4 separate regions of the Homo sapiens genome follow, and all the other regions are linked to region 2. The links are contacts of gene promoters, found by promoter capture Hi-C in human tissues and cell types (Jung and others, 2019). All regions are on one chromosome and are shown on one strand. Each heading gives the region's core, a stretch centred on a gene start or on the middle of the fragment in contact. The rest is flanking DNA. Distances are from core to core; before and after follow the strand shown. Region 1 holds the start of BTRC (beta-transducin repeat containing E3 ubiquitin protein ligase). Region 2 holds the start of LDB1 (LIM domain binding 1). Region 3 overlaps BTRC (beta-transducin repeat containing E3 ubiquitin protein ligase). Region 4 has its middle 26 kb from the start of TRIM8.

The links. The method cuts DNA at HindIII sites, captures the fragments that hold promoters and counts their contacts. A contact is called where the count stands out against the background at its distance.
Region 1: a contact is called between the fragment with the promoter of BTRC here and the fragment with the promoter of LDB1 in region 2, in 1 of the 25 tissues and cell types used here (aorta).
Region 3: a fragment that was not itself captured here is called in contact with the fragment with the promoter of LDB1 in region 2 in 1 of the 25 tissues and cell types used here (aorta).
Region 4: a fragment that was not itself captured here is called in contact with the fragment with the promoter of LDB1 in region 2 in 1 of the 25 tissues and cell types used here (dorsolateral prefrontal cortex).

Annotation. Positions count from the first base shown.
Region 1 is chr10:101,352,897-101,355,596 of GRCh38, forward strand. It overlaps BTRC (beta-transducin repeat containing E3 ubiquitin protein ligase), which reads left to right and starts at 1,269. Exons shown (of 15, transcript NM_033637.4): 1 at 1,269-1,332. The coding sequence starts at 1,285. RefSeq lists a silencer at 1,313-1,492. The HindIII fragment of the contact is 8,909 bases long and covers 1-2,700 here.
Region 2 is chr10:102,118,970-102,121,669 of GRCh38, forward strand. LDB1 (LIM domain binding 1) reads right to left here and starts at 1,399. Exons shown (of 11, transcript NM_001113407.3): 1 at 1,117-1,399. The coding sequence starts at 1,141. It also overlaps a transcript of PPRC1 not described here. RefSeq lists silencers at 1,039-1,108, 1,199-1,278, 1,339-1,638, 1,659-1,788 and enhancers at 1,285-2,036, 2,037-2,700. The HindIII fragment of the contact is 10,982 bases long and covers 1-2,700 here.
Region 3 is chr10:101,454,743-101,457,517 of GRCh38, forward strand. The region is part of intron 2 of BTRC (beta-transducin repeat containing E3 ubiquitin protein ligase); the gene reads left to right. Among named protein-coding and RNA genes, the nearest start is that of BTRC, 100 kb to the left of the region's middle. The HindIII fragment of the contact is 4,588 bases long and covers 1-2,775 here.
Region 4 is chr10:102,669,010-102,671,873 of GRCh38, forward strand. No RefSeq gene overlaps it. Among named protein-coding and RNA genes, the nearest start is that of TRIM8, 26 kb to the left of the region's middle. RefSeq lists enhancers at 86-688, 689-1,290, 1,291-1,892. The HindIII fragment of the contact is 7,795 bases long and covers 1-2,864 here.

The DNA of each region.
Region 1 (2,700 bases), core at 19-2,518, 770 kb before region 2:
AGTAGAGACGGGGGTTTCTCCATGTTGGCCAGGCTCGTCTCGAACTCCTGACCTCAGGTGATCCACCCGCCTTAGCCTCCCACAGTGCTGGGATTACAAGCGTCAGTCACCGCGCCTGGCCCTAAATCACTTTTGTTGTTGTTGTTGTTGTTATACTGTTCTTTTTCATTGCTAAGTAATATTCCACTGTGCTACATATGGAATATGCTACAATTTGTTCATACAACCACCTGCTGAGGGGCATTTGGGTGTGTGTCAGTTTTTTAGGCTGTATAACCAATTATCACAAACATAGCAGCTTAAAACAACCTAAATCACTTTTAACCAAACCCTAGAGTTTTCTCCTCCTAAGGTAGACCCAATTTCCAAAATAAACCCATATTGTACCTTTTCAGGCCAAAGAAAATATTTATATGCTTTATTTGCTGGAGGCCATTATATTCCACCGTTGAAGGACTTTTGTTAAGTACCTGTTTGACCCTTAGTGCAGGGCTTACATCCCACAGTTAGCAATAGCAAGTTATGTGCTTTTTGAGCTCTAAACACTGAGAATTTCTTGAACCGAGTTCTATTCGGCCCTGACTTGCTGTGGGGGAGAAAAGATTCCTCGGGAGAAGTGTGGGTGGCGATGGCTTAGGAGGACCTTGAAATTCCGCATTTGTCTGTGAGCTGCTGCCAGGTGCCCATTGGCCCAGCTACTCTGGGTCGCAAACCTGCAGATGCCAGATACATGAAATTTGGGGACGTTCAGCTTCCTAAAACCACAGTTAGGCAGGTCCTAGGACCCGTGATTCTTGCCACAGTTTTTCTTAGTATTTGGGCTACAAGTGAGGCATTGGCCGCCATCTTGATATCAAATGCCAGGCAAGCCGCTACTGGCGTCGCTCGGTAACCACGGAGACACCCGTGCCCCTCCCGTTTCTCATCCTTAGAGGCTGTAAACTACAATTCCCATCAGCCGATTTCCTCTGCGTAATGGCAACTTATCTAAATCTGGCTTGTGGGCAACCGCAACGCTGCCGCAGTGAACTGTGGGAGTTGCGGTTCACGGCGTAGCCTCAGTTTTTTTCCTGGGGGAAGTTCCAGAACTACAAATCCCGTGAGCCAGTGGGCTTTCGCCTGCGCACGGAGAAGCCGATTCTCCTTGGCCCCTCAGCCTGCGCCTGAGAGGTAAGAGAGGGCGGGGGGAAGGAAGAGGAGGCGGGATCCGGGCGCTGCGTTGGCTGCGGCCTGGCACCAAAGGGGCGGCCCCGGCGGAGAGCGGACCCAGTGGCCTCGGCGATTATGGACCCGGCCGAGGCGGTGCTGCAAGAGAAGGCACTCAAGTTTATGGTGAGGAGACGGTGGAGGCCGGGGAACGGTGGAGGCGCTGGCGTTGGCGGCGTCGCTGGCCTGGGCCGCCCGCCCACTGCGGGACCGGGCAGCGGGACCCTGGGCCGAGGCTGGCGGCGGAGCGGCTGGAGGGATGGGATGGGAGCTCCAGAAAGGAGGCTGGGGGTTGCGGAGCGGACCCAGGGGTGGGGGCAGCGGCTCCGCCATCTTGTGGATGAGAGGCCAAGTGACAGCGGGAGCTTAATCGAGGAGGGGGCTCCAGGCGGCGCGCGGGGCCCTGGAGGGAAAGGGGCGTGGGGACTGTTACTGAAAAGCGGAGGAAGCTCTCTGGAGAAACGCCGTGAGGCCGCTGGCGGGGCCTTCCTGGTGTCAGGGTTACCGGTAAGGCCCGGGAGAGGAGGTGCATTCACGACTGGGGAAGGGAGCGCGGGATAGAGTGAAGACAGATACGGTGGGTAGAGGGGAACGGGCAGGGCTGGATGCAGATGGATTTAAGGGTGGAGGAGGGAACGCTAGGGCTGGTGAGAGGCTTATAGTTTTGTAGAATGAGGAGGGAGGATAGCCTTTGCCTTGAGGGTGGAATCCCAGCTTGGCCAAACTACTGTTGACAAACTCTGGAAGGGAAGAGGCCTCACTAAAGAAGATAAGGACTGGGAATGAGGACCTAGGGCTATAATGACAGTCCCTGGGAGGGGAAAAGGGTGTTGACTGTAAGCTAGAATTACAAATGTCAGGGAGGGGTACATAACGCTACTTTGAAAGGAGAAGCTAAATACTGTAATAAGGACAAGGTGATGAAAAGTAAGAGCAGATTGTCAGGGAAACATGGGTACAGGAGATTGGGGCAAAATGAGTATCTAATAGGGTAAGCAAAACAAAATTTAAAGGTAAATTGTGGGACGGTAAAATGTGGAGGCCAGGTGCTTTGTATCATTTTCTGGGAAAGGAAAGGCCGTGGAGATGAGAGTTGCAAAGACCCATAAGAAGTGATGAGATCAGTTGAGAAATTTAGGAGATAAAAAGGGTGGAGGTTGGTAGAGGGAAGTAAGTCAGGGATAAGTCAGGATTTGTGGTTACCCGTCAGTTTTAGGTTGAAGCACAGTGTGAGCAAAGATTGGATTTTGTGGGTGTGCTTAAACCCCTTGGAACATATTTCTTTAACTTTGTATCACGCTTTTCTTTTTGCTGTGCTTATCTTTGGCAAACTCGTATAGTCTGATATTTGATGCTTTTAATCTGATGCTTTTTGTATTTCCTAGGTGTAAAACCAGACTTTGTGGTTACAACTAAAGAATGATGGAATGCATAGATTTTAAGCTTAACAGGTGGCCTTAGGGACATTGATATTATTTGCAGTCCAGTCTTGCT
Region 2 (2,700 bases), core at 149-2,648:
AGCCTCAGCAGGCACCTGAAGTGTGTGCCCAGCCCAGCTTGGCCTGGGTCACATGATTTTCAAGGAAGCTTCCGCACTGGCAGCTTCCCTTGGGGATTTGTGGGGGAGTGGTGGGTGTCCAGCTGTGAAGTATGTAGCCAAAGCGGGCTACATTCAGGGACACTGACTTCCAGGAGAAAGCTGACTCCAGTCTGGGGCAGGAGGGCCAATTCCAGGACCCAGAGTCCCGGGGATGGAGACAGACAGTGTGCCGTGAGGCCCTCTGTAGACTACCTCTCCAGTCGCATGGCTTCTCTCTTTCCTCCTGGCAGTGAGGTAGACGCCCTCCGCCCCCCCCACCTGCCCCCCAGGAAAAAAACTCAGACCTAGGCTATCCCTGGCAAGAGCTGATATGTTTTGGGGAGGCAGGGATCTGAGCCTGGGTCCTCTCTCAAGTTCTCAGTTTTGGGTCAAGTATTGCTCCCCCAGCTTACCTCTCCACAAATCACTCTATTTCCTAGCCTGCCCTCCCACTAGGGCGGAGATGCCAGACCCAAGGGTCCAATTATCTGGCACCTCTTAGGAGTACCTCCGGTGCCTCAGGAGGGCCAACCTTCCCTGGCAACAGGCAGGAAAAGTTGAAGGTGGGGGGCAAGATGGGCCGCAATCAATACCTCCCTGCAAACAGGGTCCTCAGAAACAGCATGGGGGGGATGTCACAGGATAGGTAAGAGGCAATGGGCAGCAGGGAAGGGGGGGCAGCCCAAACCAGCCAATCACAACTCTATGGTGACCTGAGGGGGGGGGTCAAAAGTCCAGAGTCACTTCTGATTGGCTAACAACCTGGAATTCTGAGAATTTCAGCCCCCCCCAAACCTCTCCCCAATTAGCCTACCCCCAAAAAAACATACACATAAGCCACCCCCAGCGTCTCCTCCCCGTGTTTCTGGGCTGCTGCGCATTTACACAGTTGGGGAAAACGCTACCCGCCAGCCTGAGGCCCCGCGTAGCCCTTCCAGCCCCCGGCTTCCCCCATGCCATCGACGCCCCCCACACAAGTTCTCGCCAAACACGGGGTGAGGGGTCCGCAGGGACGGCTGGGCAGGAAGGGGCCGAGTGGCCGCACGCCCCACTCACCAGGACAGGCACAGCCCACTGACATCTTCACATCGCCCGCCTCTGGGGGCCCAGCCGAGTCACGGTGCCCGCCCCTCGCGGGGACAGGCCGGGCATGAGCCGCCGCCGCCGCCCGCGGCCCCCGCTGCGCTCGCCGCCGGCCCGGCCCGGCCTCGGCCCGGTGCGGGCGGCCCCTGGCTGCGGCGAGGGGCCTGTCAGGCGCGGAGCAGACAGGAAGGAAGCCAGGCAGGAAGGCGAGCGGCCTCTGCGTGTGTGCGCGCGGGTGTGAGTCCGCGGAGTGTGTGTCCGTGTGTGCGTGTGTGCGCGTGTGCGTGTGCGTGTCTGTGCGCTCCCGCCGCCGTCGCCGAGCGCCCCCCTCTCCGCCCTCGCGCTCGCGCTCCCTCGCGCCGGCGCCGGCTCCCCAGCCCAAGCCGGGCAGGGCCGGGCTTTATTAATATGCTAATTGTCCTGCTAGTGGGAGGGGAGAGCCGTGTCAAAGTGACCCGGGAGAGCGCGCAGCAAGCGACGACGTGCGTGCGCCGCGCGGCGGGCGGGCGGCGAGGGGCTGGGAGCGCTCGGGGAACGGCATGCATGTGACGCAGCTTTTAAAAAAGGAGACGGAGGCAGAGACCCCAGAGAGGGAGGGCGAAGGGGAGGGCTTGGAGGCGCAGCCGCGCGCTCGGTGTCCGTCCTCCGGGTGCCGCCGGATGGGGAGTCTGGCTGAGCCGGAGCGGGAGCCGCGGCTGGGGGAGGCGGAGCCGGGGTGGGCAGTGTGGTGTATCTCTCTCCACCCCGGGCCGCGCTCCGGGAGGGAAAAGGGACTGCAGACCCCCTGTCCGTGCTCCCTGCTGAGACGCCAGCCTTCTTCTGGAGGCCCCTTGTTTCGCGTCCCTACCCTAGGCTGGATGGGTAAAGAAGCATTCTCTTAATTCTTGTAGCAACCCCTCAACTCACCCCTTCCCTAAATTAACCACTCCTCCTTTGCCTGCGAAACCAGTTGGGACTAGAACTAAAAGGGTTAATTAAGTGGGGTCCCCGCCCTCCTCCGCCTAAGGGCTTGGGATCTGTGTTTTGCTGGGGGGAGGGGGCTGCGGAATGACCACCAGATTGGATTACGGAGGGGCGATAGGAGGCCATCCTTCCTTCTTGCAGACTGACGCATCAGTCAAGACACTCTCTTCCCTTCCCCCCTTTCTCCAGCCTTGGTGCCTTCACCTCCGTACCAACCGCCCAACCCCACCGCCTCCGACCCCCCTGCCTGGAAGCTGCTGTCCTTTGAGGGCTTCGGAGATGAGAACAGGAAACAGGCCCCTCCAGTGCCCCCTAACCCAGAGAGGCAGAGGCTGTGGGCCGTGGGGGGTTGGATGGGAGATGATGTGGATGGTCAATGTAAGGAACACTCCTTCCCCTGGGAGGAGCCTCCCAACCTTCAGTCACACTTCAAGGACTCCCCAACCCAGCCCTAGGAGGGGAGGGGCTCCATCTCCATCCCTTCCCAAAAGCTCAGCTTTAGCTGCCTCATAAACAGGAAATACCTATTAGCCAGGAGGAGGGAAGGGAGGGGAGCCGCCTGGAGTAGAGAGTTGACCCCCTCCCTCCTGGGGT
Region 3 (2,775 bases), core at 76-2,575, 660 kb before region 2:
TTACACTCCAGCCTGATGTGATAGAGCAAGACCCTGTCTTTAAAAAACAATCCTTTCAACCCCGAAATTTCAAGATCATATCACCTGTTGGTGAGACTATGAAGAAACTTGCTTAACTGGGGCAGAAAAGATGTGTTGTGGGAAATAACTTGGTGTAATATAGTAGGGAATTCTGGATGGTCCTGAAAACCAGGCCTAGAACTTCATATTTGATTTCATAGAAATAAAGAGCCACTAAAAATATTTTAGGGAAAGACCATTACGACAGTAGCAGTGTTAAGAAAGATTAACCTGGCAATAATATTCAATCCAAGAAACTTTTTTTTTTTTTTTCTTTGAGACAGGGTCTCACTCTGTCGCCCAGGCTAGAGCACAATGGCATGATTACACCCCAAACTCCTGGGCTTAAGCGATCCTCCCGCCTTAGCCTCCTGAGTAGCTAGGACGACAAGCATGTGCCACTATGCCCAGCTAATTTTTTTTTTTTTTTTTTATGTAGAGGTAGGGTCTTGCTATGTTACCCAGGCTGGTCTTGAACTCCTGGCCCCAAGCAATCCTCCTGTCTCTACCTCCCGACAAGAAAACATTTTAAAATTCACATTATATTCTCTAGCTTTGTGCTGAACCTCTGAAATATAAGATGAAACAGAAACTGGCCCTGCCTTGAAGGAATTTACAGTAGTGTGGGGTGGGAAGCATGTTCATGTAGAGATATAAAGAGATATAAAGAATTAAGTGCCAATTGGAAGTGAAGTTTTTCTTCGGAGTAATTAATTCTAACTGCAGGTTAGGCGTAAGGGGATAAAGGCTTCTCAGAGAAGGTATCATTTTAGCTGACTCTTGAATCAGGATTTTTAGTAGATAAAGAGATTGGGAAAGAAGCCTGTTACATGTTAAGGGACTAGAATTAACAAAAACACAGAGATGAAAGAGTGGTTTCCTTATTTTGGTGAATGATAAATAATGTCATGTAAATGGTACAGAGACTTTGATGAAGTGTTAAGTTGGCTGTCTTATGGATGCTGTACTAAGAAGTTTGGGTTTATCCTGTTATTGCCAAAAAGCTATAAAAGGCTTTTGAACAGGAAAGTAACCTTTTTAGAATGATGATTCTAATGGCCGGGCATGGTGGCTTACGCCTGTAATCCCAGGACTTTGGGAGGCCGAGGTGGGTGGATCACTTGAGGTTAGGAGTTCGAGGCTAGCCTGGCCAACATGGTGAAACTCTGTCTCTACTAAAAACACACACACACACACACACACACACACACACACAAAATTAGCTGGGCATGGTGGCGCATGCCTGTAATCCCAGCTACTCGGGAGGCTGAGGCAGGAGAATCACTTGAACCCAGGAGGCAGAAGTTGTAATGAGCCGAGGTCGCCACTGTCCTCCAGCCTGGGTGACAGAACGAGACTCTGTTTCAAAAAAAAAAAAAGAATGATGATTGCCACTCTAGTGTATAGAATATATCATTTGGATTTAGGCAAGGATGTCAATGTCAGAAGGCTGTCTCAATAGTAATAGCACTGGTAAGAGGTGTTGTGGGTCTGGACTAGAGTAGAAGCAGTGGAAATGCAAAAGTAGGGTCAGATGTATTAAAATAGATGATTCAAAGAAAAAGTTTATAGACTGAAAATTAGCTAGATATGTTCAAAGAAAAAAAAGGAATGAGTAAAAACTGACTCTGAGGATTTAAGTCTAGGATAAAAAGAAAAGTTGGGAGGAAAAGAGCTGACCTAGAAATGAGTGGAGATGGTAAAAGAGTGCTTTAAATTTAGATGTGTTGATTTTGAGACAGTTTAAGCTTATCACCTGAATACTTTTTTAATATAATTACTTTCTTTTTTATTCGCCCAGTTTGGTTGTGGAAACATTTTATCCAAAATGCATCCCTGAGGTCTAATGCAGGAGCTTTAGCAGTATTTCCTTTATTGACCTTTTCCTACCCAAATCTCTGTTACTGTATCTGCAGGTGTTACAGCCCAAATGCATCTAGTTTGGAGTTAAATTCAAAGTTGACAGGGAGACTTTCATTCTGCCCTTTCAATTCTAAGCTAGTAAGCACTGAGCTAAGAAATAAATATTTGAGTTAATATAAAAGGTAACAAGTTGTGCACTGGGCTAAGAAATAAATATTTGAGTTAATATAAAAGGTAACAAGTTGTGTAGAATCTTTTACAAAAATATTTTAATATACTATAGTCCCCACTTATTCATAGGGGGTATGTTCCCCAGTGGATGCCTAAACCACAGATAGTTCTGAACTCCATGTATACTATGTTTTTTCCTATGGACACATACCTATGATAAAGTTTAATTTATAAATTAGTCATAGTAAGAGATTAACAACAATAAGAATAAAATAGAACAGTTATAACTATACTGTAATAAAAGTTACATGAATATGCTCTCTCAAAATATCTTACTGTACTGTACTCACCCTTCTTATGATGATGTGAGACAGTAAAATGTCTATGTGATGAGATGAAGTGAGGTAAATGACCTAGGCATTGTGACACAGCATTAGGTTACTACTGACCCTTTGACAGCATGCTACCTGCTTTAGGTGATCCTGGATTATTGAGCCATGAAGATGTTGGTGGTGGGATGTCAGGAGCAGACAATGTCAATGACTCATGGTCAAGTAGCATGTACAGTGTGGATACACTGGACCAAGGGATAATTCACATCCTGGGCAGGACAGAGCTACCAGAAAGGTGCACAATTGAAAACTATTTCTAAAAATTTCCATTCAATATTTTAGGACCTCA
Region 4 (2,864 bases), core at 87-2,586, 550 kb after region 2:
CAGCTGTGCAGATGCCTCCCCCACTGCCTGGATCAGCATCTCAGCCCCTGAATGCCCCTTCCTCCTGCTTTTTCTTCTTCCGACCTGCTGCTATGCCAGATCTGGAGGTCTCAGGGCGGGAAAGGGGCCTGGGGCATGAGTAAGGATGAAATCCAGGCTGCATCCCCATAGGAGCTGGGGAGAGTGAGGGAAGAGTTGGGCTGGATTGGATCCCTTGGTCCAGGATGGGCTGTTGTTTACAAACCAAAGCTTCTTATCCCCATCTTCCCAGAAGCCATCTGTAGCATTCCAGCAGGAAAACTGCTTTGGCACTGTCCCCTGGAGACTCGAGGGAAGCCCCATTCCTATGTGACAACCCTAGACCAGGCTTGCTCTGTGCCTCCAAAGGGAATCCAAGGGGGCTGAGGTTGGTGGACCAGCATCATTCTGCAGGATTCTGACGTCCTGGCAGCAAGGAGGGCTAGGGAAGGAGAATGCTGGGCTCCAGCCCGGGACCAGGTGCTCTAGGTGGGCCTGGGCCTGGGCTGGGGAACAGTGCTGAAATGTAGGCCCAGGGAAGGGTCTGGCTGGTGTCACAGGCAGGGCCAAGTGTAGCTGTACAGCTTGTGCCCTACCCAAGGGAACTGGCTGAGGGGCCTGCAGCTGGTGCCACGCCTTGTACTCTGGTGTGGGGCATAATCTCCCACATGAGTCAGTGGTGGCCTGGGTGACAGGCCTCTCTAGTGTTAGGAATGTGGCCAAGAGGGCCTGCCTGTGGACGGAGCCCGTGTGTCTCCTATGGTGAGCTCTTTCTCCTCCTGCTCCAGCGGTCTTGGGGGGCTCCTAGGGCTGTGCCTCCAGGGGGCTGGCACAGGGGCTTCTGAGTCCTGGGTGGAAGTGGAGGCAGCTGATCCCAGGCCAAAGCCCCAACTACAACAGCCTCCCCAGGCCCTTTCCTTGGTTGTAAGGGTGGGGCTGGGCACCTCCTGCCCCCTCTACTGGTGGCATCCAGAGCAGCAGCTGACTCTGGGACCCCAGGGCAGGGTCTTCTGGATCCTGAAAACAGGGTGAGTGGCAAAAAGCGAGGGCCGCCTCTCACCTACCTCCCTGGGGTGGCATCATGGAATAAAATGGGCTTTCAGCAAGTGGGCTGGCGGGAATCACAGTCAAGCCATTTCCTAGCTGTGTGACTCTGGGCAAGTGACTTAACCTTTGTGAGCCTTGGTTTCATCATCTGGGAACTAGGGACAGTAAACGGCTATCTTGTAGGGCTAATCAAAGGATGAGACCCACTAATGACTCAAAGGAGAAGCAGTTGGCTTAGCTAAATGGGATTCTGACCCCAACCCTGTACCTCTCAGCTTCAGGTATCCAAGCAAATTCTCCCTGCCCCCTCCTGGACACAGCTTGCTTTCTGCAGTTCTGTCATTAATATTTCATTTCTTTAGCAAAGGCTTTTTGTCCCTGGGACACTGCTATTCGCTCTGGAGAAGAAACTGTTCCGTGTTCCTTCGTGCAGAAGGATTCCTTAGCTCCTTTTCTGAGAGCAGAGCATTAGGAGCCAAAAGCAAACAGGTATTGTGGTATAAATTTGGGACCCAGCAGTGAAATAGGCCTGAGTTCAAATCCTGACTGTGCCCAGTTCTTCCTGTGCGATCATGGGCGAGTGATTCAAATTCTATGAGCCCCATCCTCATACTGTGAATGACAATACCTACAGTTAACAGTGTCTTTGCGAGGATTAAATAAGGTAACTGTGAAGTACCTGGTGCAAGTGGCTACCTCCTTAACTCTTTCCCCCGGTTCTGACACTGTGGGGGACTGGTTGTTGGCTGCACTTCCACGCCTGTGTGTGGTTGGTTCTGGACACACACACACACCAGTGCTGGACCAGCAGAATGACTGCAGGGAGCCAGGGCTCTCTTTCTCTCCTCCCTGCCCCTGCTCCTGGTGGCTGCAGCTTCTCTGTGTTCTGCAGTGTTGGAAAAGGAAATTACAGAACAGATTGCAATTAAGGGGGATGAGGGGGAGACAGGGACAGAGGCCGTGAGATGCAGCTTGACTGAGCACTAAACTGTGTTTGCGCCTGGAGCCAATCAGGAGCCTCTGATAAGAGCCTTTCCCACTTACAAAGCTAAGCAGGAGGTGTGGTTGGGGTGGCCCTGGGAGTCCCGAAGGGAGGGGGCTGCTGGCCTTGAAAGTCACAGAGCCACATGGGAGGGAAGGTGGGAGGTAGAGGTCTTAGGGGCCTTGGAAAGCCTGGACTCCAGACTTTCTGCCAGCTGTTATATTTGCTACCATTGATTTAGCACCTACTACTCACTGTACGGACATCTCATCTCATCCTCTTGACAACTGTGCAGCATGATTATTGCCCAATTTTGAAGATAAGAAACTGAGGGCCAGGCACGGTGGCTCACGCCTATAATCCCAGCACTTTGGGAGGCCAAAGCACGTGGATCACCTGAGGTCAGGAGTTCAAGACCAGCCTAGTCAATATGGTGAAACCCCATCTCTACGAAAAATACAAAAATTAGCTGGGGATGGTGGCACATGCCTGTAATCCCAGCTATTCGGGAGGCTGAGGCAGGAGAATCGCTTGAACCTGGAAGGTGGAGGTTGCAGTGAGCCGAGATCGTGCCACTGAATTCCAGTCTGGGCAGAAGAGCGAAACTCCGTCTCCAAAAAAAAAAAGAAAAGAAAAAGAAACTGAGGCATGGAATGTTCCTTCTATGTGCTAGGTATTGTCCTAGATCTAGGCACTTTGTTTACATGAGATCTCTTTTAAATCTCCCTGTGCTGACCTAGTCAACATGAAAATGCTGGGATTATGGGCATAAGCCACCGCACCCAGCCACACTTTTTAATTGCACTGCGCTGTCCCT